2 separate regions of the Homo sapiens genome follow, and region 1 is linked to region 2. The links are contacts of gene promoters, found by promoter capture Hi-C in blood cells and fetal thymus (Javierre and others, 2016). All regions are on one chromosome and are shown on one strand. The core of a region is centred on a gene start or on the middle of the fragment in contact, and the rest is flanking DNA. Distances in the headings are between cores, read along the strand shown. Region 1 overlaps EMP1 (epithelial membrane protein 1). Region 2 holds the start of FAM234B (family with sequence similarity 234 member B).

Region 1 (6,722 bases), core at 4,092-6,591, 170 kb before region 2:
GATACATGATATGGTTTGGCTGTTCCCCCACCCAAATCTCATCTTGAATTGTAATCCCCCAAATCCCCATGTGTTGAGGGAGGGACCCCGTGGAAGGTGATTGGATCATGAGGGTGGTTCCCTCATGCTGTTCTTGGGATAGTGGGTTCTATAAAATTTATGGTTTTATAATGCAGTTTTCCCTTCTCTTGCATGCTCTCTCTCCCCTGTCACCATGTAAGACGTACCTCTTCCCCTTTTGCCATGATTATAAGTTTCCTGAAGCCTCCCCAGCCATGCAGAACTGTGAGTCAATTAAACCTCTTTTCTTTATAAATTACCCAGTCTCGGGTATGTCTTTATAGCAGTGTGAAGACGGACTAATACAATATGCTAATGCAAGTGGGAAAACTAAGATTGATTTTGGAATGAAACATGCAGTCTCAACTTAAGAACACCCAATTTACAAAACTATATATATCCAGACAGAGTCATACTGAATGCCATGTTCTCCCACATCAATGTCAAATGCTTAGCATGGCCAGCAAAAAGCTGTTCCTTTGCTGTAATGCAACCGTGTCTTCTGAATATGGATCCATATTCACTTTCCATCTTATCCTCCATCAGACACACTCTTCTTTTCCTAAAGCATTTGCAGGGCAACAGAGGGTTCCAGGTTTCAGAATTTAAACAGTCGTATCTCATTGAAAATAAGTTTAATGATTATTAAGTTTCCAAGCTAGATTACAGAAGTCTTTTTAGCCCATATCATAAATAAAATAGTTCTGAATTTTTCGTATGGAAAAATATACTCTGAGTTCCAAGCAAACAACTTAAGAAAATTTTTAGAACTAACACATTCCTATATTGGGAAGAGCTCAAAAGTCTGTTCTTCCTCCCCATCCACTGTTGTTTAATTAATCTCTTAATATCATAAAGTCCCTCATGTGCCAAGTGTAGACAGTCATTTTTGAATCAGGGCTCACTTTGTTAGCTTTTTTGTCAATTAAACCTCTTTTCTATATAAATTACCGAGTCTCAAGTATGTCTTCATAGCAGTGTGAAAACAGACTAATACAGGAATTTGGTACCAGGAGTGGGGCATTGCTATAAAGATACTTGAAAGTGTGGAAGCACCTTTGGAACTGGGTAACGGGTAGAGGTTGGAAGAGTTTGGAGGGCTCAGAAGAAGACAGGAAGATGAAGGAAAGTTTGGAGCTTCCTGGAGACTTGTTGAATGGTTTTAACCAAAATGCTGACAGTGATGTGGACGATTAAGTCCACACTGAGGTGGTCTCAGAAGGAGATGAGGAACTTATTGGGAACTGGAGTTGCCAATAGATCAGCAGTTAACCAGAAGCTTGAGTTGAGTATGGACCTGACATATGGATAGACATATTGACATCTTATGCTAGTGTTCTGGCCCTCCCTGCCCCGACAGTGATAGAAGCATCCATCAACGCCCATCCTGACATCAGCATAAAGCACAGGTTGGAGAGATTGTAGATAAAGGCAGAGAGGCTATTATAATGCTTCTCACCTCCAGTTCCCCAGATGGAAGACAAGGAGGCCCTGGAACAAAGGAATGGCATTTGGGACAAAGTGATGTTGGCAAGTAAGAAATGCAGCAGTGGTCCAACCCACAGGAGATGCCAGACAATTGCTCATGGCATGAGATAGGGTCATGAGGAAAAGCTGAAGAACTGAAAATCTTTCTTCTTCCCTCCCTAGGCATTCATGCTCCCACCTCATCTACATCCCACAGATCCTCCATTTTCTCTAGGTATGAGATTTATTTCCAAGCTAGACTGAAAGCTGGAAGAAGATGGGACACATGTCTGCTTCATTTTCTATTTCCCCAGCATGTAGGTGCAGCACCCAGCCCCTAGTTGTTTATCAATTATAGGTCTTGATGGTCATGTCCCCAGCCTCCCGCCTCAGGAGTAGGCTTCACATGTCTCCCTTTCAGAAACAAAGCCACGTAAGACTCCAAAACCCCGCCTTCCCTTGGGCTCCACACAATCAGCATACATCTTTCCTTATCTGTTTTGTGCTCTGAAAATCGTGTCTACCTCCAAATGATACATCTTTAAAGTGAGTCACCCCTCCTCACAATCTACTCCAAAATTTCCAACAAGTTTTCTTCTTTTCATTCTTCCTCCCACCAGCCTATCCTATTCCCTTCTCTCCCCCCACAAAATCTAGCTCTTCTTTAAATACATTTAAACATTTTCGCTAGGACATTTCATCTATACAGGATATGCTATATTCTAACTATTTCTTAGTAAACATTGAAGGGAGTTTCTTCCTTTATTCAAGTATGGAACCCTGCTCAATATCCTTTTGGTCTTCATATGCCTTCTTTCAAGGCCTTTGTGAAATTTTTTTCCATGCCTGAAAGCCGGTGGGGTTTTACACAGGGACTGCGATGGCTAAATCCAAGGCAGAGTGGGATCTTTATCTATTAACCATTTGATAACTCAAGTTTATCCCTTGATGAATGAATAAGTTATCATTTGCCTTTGGGTCCCATTCTTGAGTGGTCATGGAGAGTTCTGTAGCTCACCCTCTTTATACTCATAATTTGCACAAATTTCACCTAAGAGTATTTACTTAACCACTTTAATTCAATTTGTCTCTACCTAAGACATTTAATTCAACAAATATTTTTTAAGCTTCTCTATAAAAGGGACTCTGGCAACTTTCAGACCCGCACTGTAGCACCAGCTCTCTGCTGGCCCACCCCTTGCAGACTTTGGGCTTGCCTGCCTTCAAAATCATGTGAGTCAATTCCTTAAAATAAATATATTTTTATTTATTTATATATATGTTTGCACACACACGCGAATCTTATTTTTTCTGTTTCTCTGGAGAATTCTGACTAATGCACCCCCATTCACCATCCAGGCTTTTGAGGAGAAAGATACCAATCTTAGCAGCAGAGGACACTCTGGATAGAGCTAGGAGTTTGTTGCAGAGTCTGACAAAAGTTCCCTCTGCAGAAGGGATGGAAGGATAGCCTTGGGGGTTGATTTAGGACTGGGTGTATGACATGGGGGAAAAGAAATCCCTGGGGGAGCTAAATGAGGGGAGGTGGACCCCTTATGATAGTTTATCAGAGCAATCTAAGAAATCATGTAGGCCTCTAAGAAAGCATCAAGAATCAATGCAATTTGATTAATTGACTTAAAATATGTTGAACTTTTCAGCCTCCATTGTGTATTTTTGGTGCAATACTCTGTGCAACTATTTCATCCAAGACCAGAAGGGGCTGGAAGATTGCCTGCTTCACATTAAAACCCTCCTTATTGTATTGGTGCTGACACGACACAAGGATATGCAGTCTTTATCCAGTCCTTATTGCTCACAGAAAGATACCAGTCCTTACTGCTCACAGAAAGTAGTGAAGCCTCCCTTCACTCACAGAGCCCACACAGGTATGCCCTGGTTTATGTAATGAATGGGCTGCTACAAATAGGTGTGATGCATGCCTTTGTGAATCACTTTATATTTTGAAGACACATTAGAGGAGCTGGCTATTTCAAAGAAATTTCACAAGTGCCTCATTTCTTAATGTCACAAGCATTTCTGATTTATAATCATAACCCCTTTCTAATGTATTAGCTTATGAAGTTCCATTTTTTGCCTAAGAGGTTTAATCAAAGCAAGATAAAACTATGCTTAATAATATTCAGTTACCTGAAAGAGCTATTGCAGAAATGCCTAATATATTACCAGAAAGTAGCTTAATGTCTCAAATAAATGTCAAGTTGTCCAAATCAAACTGATAGGCAGCTTAATGAGGGATAAATGTCATAATTATCCATATTTCTCCACATTTTTTTTAGAAAAAAACATTCACACAATGAAGGGAATCAGAATCTGTTTTTATATCCCTAGAGTTATAAACATTTGTATCAAAATATTTACAATTATAGTATATGAAATAATCTATTAACGAAGAAGCCCAATACAGTACTAGAACAATCCACCAGAGTAATGCAAATTACATGAGACATAAATGTCACAGAAAAAAAGTAAAAGATAAGGGAATACATGGTTTACTCCAGTCATAGTTCAACTTCTTAACAAAATGTGAGTATTCCCTTTGGATATGTCTGAAATGTAAGTATGTTTTTTGCACTAAGACAGCCTTCTATAATCATGTGATAATGAAATCATAATGACAAAGTTCATCTTCCCACAGTTTTTGCTGGCCAATCTCTCTAACCTCAGCCTAGGTAATTTGGTGGCTTGCCCTCAACATTTCCTTAACTAGAATAAACATAGAGAAATAGAATTAGTAATAATCCTTTTACATAAATACCAAAAATCATGGCATAACAACTCCCCAAAAAGGAAAGGTATAAAAGAAATGGATGAGGAGAAAGCTAATAAAGAAAAGTAGGCAAGATGTCTCAGATTCTCCCTGGGGTAGATCTTCTCAGGGCGATAAAGAAAACGTCTTCCCAAAAAACCCCTTTAGACAGAATCTGAGATGGCTTAAAATAGCTGCTCCAGGGCAAAGCAATGCCTGCTTAACCAGGAATAACATACTACTTCTAAGTCCTGTATAGAGGTGCTCCTGCGGCAGCAGACAGCTCGTCTACCATCTGACTAGGTACCACAAGAGTTTTTGCTTTTTTATTTTAAAGAAAAGATCTGCCCATCACCTATATTTTTATTTATCTCATGGGATTTTCGTATTTTCCTGGGAATGCAGGCACTCTGTTCTTATCATGGCTGAAATACGGTAGGCTTAATACTTCACAATTATATAGCACCTTTCACCCAAGGGCCTGTTGTTTGGTTTTGGTTTATGTGTGTTTTAATCAGCTTCCAGAATTGCCATGCCTCACCTGTGAAGTGGGATAGGCAGGGTCCCCAAGAGGTGATCACTCCAGGTGGTGTCTAAGCCAGAGCTACCACTGAGCCTAGGAGCCCTGATCCTCAATATTGATAATTAGACAAAACTTCCTCAAAAATGTTAGAGGAAGAGTAATAGGATTGTGCTACAATGAGCCATGTCCATCTCTCTCCTGTTGTATACTTAAAAGAAACACTGACTGCATTGAGGGGAATCCTAAAAACATAACCCTAACATGGCACTGTTGCAAGACTGCCCCTTGGATCCCATAGTTTGTGTGGTACTTTTACCACCGAATTGTTCACTAGTGACTTTAGAGAAACTCCAGAAGAGCTGCCTTGGCTTTCAGCAAGAGGCCTAGCAAAGACCATGGCATGAGGTCTCCATGAGGGACAGCCGTGTGTGAGGTCTCGACTGGGCTCTGACCATCCCCCAGGTTTTCCATTGTGAAAAGGTCTCCTTCTTGGTTTAGCTAACCCACCAGCATGACCTTACAAACTCTCTTTCCTCCTCCCATTTTGTCACTGAATTCCACAGAGCTAAATATCTGTTCCAAAGAGGGACAATGGCTCACAGGCCAAAGCCCCCCAGTAGGCACTTCAGACTGGAATGTGATGTTTTGCTTTGGGTCAGAAGGGCAGGATGGCTTCCAGGCTTAGCGTATTCAGCACAAAGACAGTATCTGCTCTTGCCAGAACTTGTACCGCTATTTTAACTCAGTGCAGTAGGTCTGTGGACCTCAGTGCATGACCCAGAAGTGGGGCTGGTGTTGTGGCAGCTGATGGGGCCCCAGACAGTGTGTGTCACTAAGAACAGCTGGAGGCCAAGTCTGGTGGCTGCAGGGAGGCTCTCTGGACCCCATCAAGGGAGCATCAAAGTACTAGCCAACTACTTTCTCCCCAGGGCAGGGGCTTGGCAGTAGAGAATCCCCTCAGTAATGGTTTGGGATTTGACCTCCCCCCTTTGCTTCCCCCTCCCCCCTCCCCTATCTCGGTTTTTCCTGTACAGCAACCTCCACTTCCCTCCCAGATTCAACGGCTTCCTCCTCCCCACCCCCCAGATCCCCATGAACTCGTCCGGCCTTATTTCTTTCTCAGGACCAGATAGAGAACGCCGATGATGAAGCTGAAGCAGAAGCAGATCCAGCCCAGGATGTAGGAATAGCCGTGGTGATACTGCGTTCCATCACGATTCGCATAATGACTAGTGTAGATGGACACCCCCACAAGAATGCACAGCCCTGCAGGGGAAAAGGAGATTTGTCGGTGTGTTTTCTTACATTAAAGTCGAGAAAAAGTTTTACTAATTTTAAGAAGATCCTATTTCCCTCATTAGCAATAGGAAAATGAATTCTGCTTGTTTGTCCCTAAACAGGAGTTCTGATGGATGTCCCCTGGGCCAAGCTCGACGGTATGTTGATAAATTAGAGGTGTCTGGGCTCTCATGTCTGCACTGGTTTGTGTGGCCACGCTGTGATGTAAAACACAGAACCTCATGCCTACCACCCAGCTGTCCTGTCTGGCCCTTGTGGGTCTAGGAAAGCTACTCAGGGATGCAAAAGAGCATGTCCTTCCACCAAACCGAGTATATTGGGAAAGAACAACAATTAAGTGAGAATCACAATAATGATGTGCATTGTGGCAGTGGTTTCATCTTTCTGAGAACTCCTACCTTTCTGCCTTCTTGAAGTGTCTTGTACACACGTGCTACTAACAGATATGCACTGCCACTTGGTAGCTACCCAGGAGCACTGGTTTTGAACAATGAAGCAGATGAGGGTTCTTAACCTAAGCAGCAATCCAAGGTTCTCCACAAGAGAACAAATAACCAGAGGAGAAAATTGCACAAGGAAGTTTCACTGAACCATGTGCTAATC
Region 2 (6,348 bases), core at 3,831-6,330:
CGCCTGTAATCCCAGCACTTTGGGAGGCCAAGGCGAGCAGATCACTTGAGGTCAGGACTTCAAGACCAGCCCGGCCAACGTGGCGAGACCCCGTCTCTACTGAAAATACAAAAATTTGCCACGTGTGGTGGCAGGCGCCTGTAACCCCAGCTACTCAGGAGGCTGAGGCATTAAAATTGCTTGAACCTGGGAGGCGGAGGTTAGAGTGAGTCGAGACCATGCCACTGCACTCCAGCCTGGGCGACAGAACAAGACTTTGTCTCAAAAAAAAATTCTTATCTCAGTAAATCTTCATAACAACTATGTGAGGTAGACACATTACTGTCTTCACTTTCAAGATGAGGAAGCTGAGGCTTGGAAGTTTAAGTAATTAGCGGATGTGGTTTGGCTCTGTGTCCCCACCCAAATCTCAACTTGAATTGTACTTCCATAATTCCCATGTGTTGTGGGAGGGACCCAGTGGGAGATAACTGAATCATGGGGGCAGTTTCTTCCGTACTGTTCTCATGGTAGTGAATAAGTCTCACGAGATCTGATGGTTTTACAAGGGGAACCCTGTTTCGCTTGGTTCTCATTCTCTCTTGCCGCCACCATGTAAGATGTGCCTTTTACCTTCCACCATGATTGTGAGGCCTCCCTAGGCACACAGAACTGTAAGACCATTAAACCTCTTTCTTTTATAAATTGCCTCGTCTCAAGTATGTCTTTATCAGCAGTGTGAAAACAGACTAATACATTGGCCCACAGATAAACAGCAAGTGATAGGTAACAATTCAAAACCAGTCTGGCTTCAAAGTCTGTACGGGCTACATATGATCCCGTGGAAAAAAAATCAAGGCTTTAAAAAGACTAGAAACAACGTGATAGATACTGACAACAAAGGTGAGCCAATATATGCATGACCGAAGAGGATAACAGAAAAGAGGATAACAGAAAAGAGGATAACAGAAAACAGAAAAGAACCAAAAGCAGTATTTTAAAGAGTTGCCAAAAAAAACTTCCTACAATAAAGACCTAAAACTGCAGAATAATGAGTACACAGAGTCCCAAGAAAAACTGATTCAGAAGAATCAATACTGAAATATATCCTAGTAAAGGCACAGGACTTCAAGGACAAAGAAGGAATCCTATAAGCAGCCAGGCCAAAGGAAAAAGAATCAAGTCACTAATGACAGGAACAAAAATCAGGCAAAGATTTCTCCATAGTAACATACACTATTAAAAGATAGCGGAGCAATATCTAAAAAGTCCTCAGAGAAAGAACATGCAATTTGATGTCCAAGCATTCTGACCCAGCCATGACATCACCGAAATATAAAGACAAGCACACAAGCGCTCTGAGTTATCATATTCCTATGCTTTCTTTACATCACAGAAGACTAGGGGCCAGTTCTTGGCCAGCCTTTTGAGAGGAATAAATACTTTTATACTAATTTTTTTTTCAGATACTGCAAAAACAAACCTCCGCTTAAGGATTACAGACTGCAAGTTTTGATTAGAGAAGTCTTTAATAATATTTTTTCTATCTATTTACAGAAAGACAATAAGAGAGCGTGAAGTAAAAGACGTCCACCAACTTGCCTTAAAAGAAGTCCACCAACTTGCCTTAAAAGAAGTCCACCAACTTGCCTTAAGTCCTACTCAGGCTGAGGAGCCAGGCGTCAAATCCAGCTTCCAAGCTTAGGGCACTTAGCACTCACTCGCTTCCTTGCTACTTTCAGCCACCACCCAAATTTTTAATGAATGAAAGGTTTTCAAAGAATAAGGGAGAGGGCACTGATTTCATAACAAATCATTATAAATGCGCTTTCCACAGCTATTGCTTTTCCTCTTAGGAAGACTGAAGATGCTGCTTAAATATAATAGGATTTCCAAAATGGTAGAGAGGAAAACACAAATAGGAAAGTGATGCAACTATACCATACCCAAACGTTTTCAGGAAATATACTAAAACATACACTATTCTATAACATATACTATACTATAGTATACACTATACTGTGCATATACTATACAATACACTCTACTGCAACTAAAGGTAAATAATTCATATCATGGGTTAGTTTACCCAAGGGCATATAAAGACTAAGTTACACAAACAAAATAAATCATAAAAAATCATTTTGCTCTGATATTCCCTCCAGTGTTTGACCTTCAAACTTTAAAATGGCCTAAGAAAAAAAATATATATATACTTAGGAGATAAGCTGCCCTACAGGCTTTATGAATGTCATATTGGCCTTCTGCTACTAATTAACCTCATTTTATGCATGTGAGCCAAACATCTTTCCTTCTTGAGCTTAGCGAAACTGCTCTTTCATAACAAGACTGCTGAGATCTGTCAATAGCTCACTATTACATCAAGCCTTCCTTCAGGTATCACATTCATAAATGAGCACACTGCTGATGACAACAGCTAACACTTACTGACTAATTAACATATGTCAGAGGTTACTAGACCTCCTAAGTACATCCATCTCCTTTACTATTTCAGATAACCCTAGGAGGTAAATATGTAGTAGAATGTGTGGCATAGAGTGAATGTTCCATAATAATGTTATTGTTACAGATGAGGAAACTAAAGCTTAAAGAGATTAAGTAACTAATTAGGTAAAGACTGGATTTGAACCCGAGCCTGTCTCATGCTCTCAGCCACCACTCCAACCTGACTTCCTCACACATGAAAACAGTGGGGATGTTGGGGCCAGACGCAGTGGCTCATGCCTGTAATCCCAGCACTTTGGGAGGCCAAGGCAGGCGATCACCTGAGGTCGGGAGTTCCAGACCAGCCTGACCAACATGGAGAAACCCTGTCTCTACTAAAAATACAAAATTAGCTGGGCATTGTGGTGCATGCCTGTAATCCCAGCTACTCGGGAGGTTGAGGCAGGAGAATTGCTTGAACCCAGGAGGCGGAGGTTGCGGTGAGCCGAGATCACACAATTGCACTCCAGCCTGGGCAAGAAGAGCAAAACTCCGTCTCAAAAAAACAAACAAACAAACAAAAAAACAAACAAAGAAAACAGTGGGGATGTTAACTACAGGAACATAACACAGTAGCCCAAACAGGACAGCAGTCTCAGGACCCCAATTACAGGGGAGCCAAAAAGAGCTATATAAAAACAACTTGTACCTAATGCAAAAACTAAAAATAGTATTTTGGGTGGAGGGAAGAAGAAAGGGCAAGAAGGAGACAAGGAAAAACGCAAGTGAACATTTTCTCCCATCCAAGTACTAACCAGGCCCGACCCTGCTTAGCTTCCGAGATCAGACGAGATCGGGCGCGTTCAGGGTGGTATGGCCGTAGACGCAAGTGAACATTTTCTTAAAACCCACATCACATGAAAGAACACATGCCTACTATATCTGGGCCTAAAAAAGCATCAAGCATACCTCAGGGCTCAGGGCCAAGCTGCCTGCCAAACAGGCCCATGGACTGGACTATGGGAACCCCAACCAGTTCCTACAACTAATACTCCAGGGAGTAATAACACCACAGCCTTGGGGCATAAGAACACAAAAGACCTCAAGAGTTGCTAAAGCAAGATTTTCATGCATTCTCATTCTTAGAGAATAACAATGACCTACACTGAAATTTTAAAAAAGGACTCTAAAAGAAAAAAAAAAAAGAAATAAAGCTAAATGTCTGACATCTTATTACCCCTCTGGGAGGACATCATTCTACACTAAGGATATACAAAGTAAAAAAGTAAAAAATTAATCCTGCAGGTAAAGGGCCACGTCTCTCCTTTAATTCCAGTGTTATGCACACATTCCAAGGCAGATGCTATCAGTGTTCCTTCCAATGTTCCAATGAGCCCATATTAAAAAAAATAATAATCTGTCTGAGGTCATGAAGTCTGGGGACAGAAACGCAAATTAATATCCAACCTAGCGTCATCCAAATGGCAAGGTTCGCTTCAGGGTAGCATACTGGAAGCTCCTTGAGAACAAGGACCCTGTAATCCCCCTGCAAGCTCAAACTAGCTATCCAACCAAAACCCAAATAGCCCTCTCTAGAGATAGCTATGAAAGCAACTGCTTTTCCCTCTAATACAAATTATCAGCAAATAAATGTTTATAGCTTAATGCTTAAAACTTACCTAGGTAGAGCCATCAATTTTTCTAAAGCCTAATGTTTAAAATTTACTTGGGTGGAATAAATATACTTTTATTTAAATATCAACTTTCTAACAGTACAATCCTACTCTGGAGGTTTAGGAGGAAAAAAAAAAAAAAAGGAAAAAAAACTTGGAGCTGCTGCCCGAAGTACTGAATCAGCTCTGGAAGTTGTCATCACCCCTAATGCTGCCTTAAAGAAGATTCCATACATTATCTTCAACTTATAGGTGCCAAATCATTTCCCATGCTTAATCTCGGCAGCTGGAGACTGACCAAGTGGAATCAAAAGCTCAGGATTTAGAGTGAAAAGACCCCTGACGTTCAAGGCCGAGCTTTCCCAATACTTGTGAGACCTTGGACAATTCACTTAGCCAAATAACTCTCATTTTCTCTTCTGTAAACTAGGAAGGGACGTAAATACCTGTCCCACCTGCCTCATGGATGCGTCGTTGCTGCCGTTAGGTGGAGGGGATGATCCACAGAGGGCCACTCGCCGTCCCGCCGCCCCCGCCCAGGTCCAGCCAAGACAGAAGGCGCCGGAGTCCCTGCGGTGCTGGGTCCGCGGCGCTCGGGAAGGATGCTCCTCTCGCCAGCCTCCCCTCGGGACAGCGGCGACCGGCGTTCTGACATTCCCCGCCGTAACACCTGCTCGGCGCCCTCTCCCCGCGCGTCTCCGGGTTCGCCCCGCGCCCGAGACCCCTGCCCCGCTGGGCGCCCCTCTCGCCCTCTGGTGGCACAGAGACCCCAGCCCCAAGGGACTGCACCCTCCTCGGCACCGGGCGCCTGCAGCTGAGTCTGGGTTGAGGCCAGGGCCCGACCGGCCTCGCCCCCAGAGCCTCGCCTCCCCTTATTCCAACACCGGCGGGGACTGGGTGGTCGCAAGCATGCGACTCCTTACCCGGCAGCTTGAGCGCCCTGGACAGCACGGTCGCCATGGCTGAGGCCCCGGTGCGCGTGCGCGCGCCCGCGTTCTGCCGGGAAGTGTAGTTCCGAGCGGCGGTGCGTGGGGCTGGGACCGGGAAAGGTGGGACCCGCTTGCTGGGGACAGAGCTGAGGGAGGCCAAGCCAGAGTACACGCTCCGCAGGCTTTTCTCCCACCCTACCTATGCAGGTCACCTCACCACTCTGAGTCTCACTTGCCTCGTCAGTGAAATGGGGAGAAAATACCCCGTAAGCTTGCAGTGAAAATGATTCGAAGGAGATATTTAAGGAGGTGTGGATTGTGCAATGTGCGTGGGCTTTGAAATCAGGCAGACTGGATTTGAATCCTGCCTGAATCACTTACTAGCTGGGCCATCTTGGGCAAGTCCCTTGGGGCGACTGAGCTGCCGCTGCTTTTTTTTAATTAAAGACATACTACCTACTTCACAAGCTTGCAATGAGAATTAAATGATACGACCTGTTTAAAACACACAGCACACAGTAGGCACCTAGTAAGAGTGTTTCTATTACGCTTCTTAGGTAGAAGTTGAAGTTTCCTGGAGCTCGAACCCTCATTTATTGCTCCCAGTTCTTTACAGGTGTCTACTCAGCACCCTACGCTGCAGCTTCTAGTTGAAGGGTGTAGAAGGAGGATCCGACTGTGTACATACATCCAATAGATGCAGCATCTCCAGCTCCTCAGATTTCAATGCTTGACCTTTAAGGCATCTGCACGCTCCCCGTAATCACCCCAGCTTTGCCTGAATGATTTTTGCGGAGAGCCCGATGCCCAGGAATTCCTCCTTCCTTGGCTCCCTGAGCTTTCCCCCACTTTGTCTTCCTTGTCCCTCTGGAAATCTCCTTCATCCCTCCATAACTTTTTTCCATTTTAACATAGGAACTGCAGCTTAGAATAGTATTTCTCAAATTTAATGTACTTTCTTTTCAATTAAAGAAAAAAATTCAAAGCAGCTGCCAAATGAATCAGGATCCTTACCTTTTACATAGAGAATACCTGTGTGTTCCTCTCTAGCTACTGAGTGGAATGTGAATACTTTTGCTGCCCAAACACCCACTGAGGTCACTGTGGAAAATGCAAACACCCAGGCCCTCTCTGACTTCTGAACTTGGCTTGCCTCAGGACCAGGCACAGTGGTGTAGAAGGAAGAACTGACTTGCTTCTTTCCCACACGCAAGTGATCAGCATTTTAGTGCAGGAATGCTAATACTGTGTTATCTTAGAACTGGAACAGATCCTAGAGGCTATCTAGTCCCACTCTCCTTGTTTTGTTTAAGAGAAAGCTG

The links. Contacts are between HindIII fragments. The CHiCAGO score rates a contact against its expected background, and 5 or more counts as called.
Region 1: a fragment that was not itself captured here is called in contact with the fragment with the promoter of FAM234B in region 2 in 7 of 17 cell types (monocytes, total B cells, activated CD4 T cells and 4 more); the score reaches 10.2 in monocytes.

Annotation. Positions count from the first base shown.
Region 1 is chr12:13,213,898-13,220,619 of GRCh38, reverse strand. It overlaps EMP1 (epithelial membrane protein 1), which reads right to left. Exons shown (of 5, transcript NM_001423.3): 5 at 679-6,086. The coding sequence ends at 5,929. Among named protein-coding and RNA genes, the nearest start is that of EMP1, 21 kb to the right of the region's middle. The HindIII fragment of the contact is 5,370 bases long and covers 2,657-6,722 here.
Region 2 is chr12:13,043,113-13,049,460 of GRCh38, reverse strand. FAM234B (family with sequence similarity 234 member B) reads right to left here and starts at 5,080. Exons shown (of 13, transcript NM_020853.2): 1 at 5,021-5,080. The coding sequence starts at 5,057. The HindIII fragment of the contact is 2,713 bases long and covers 2,587-5,299 here.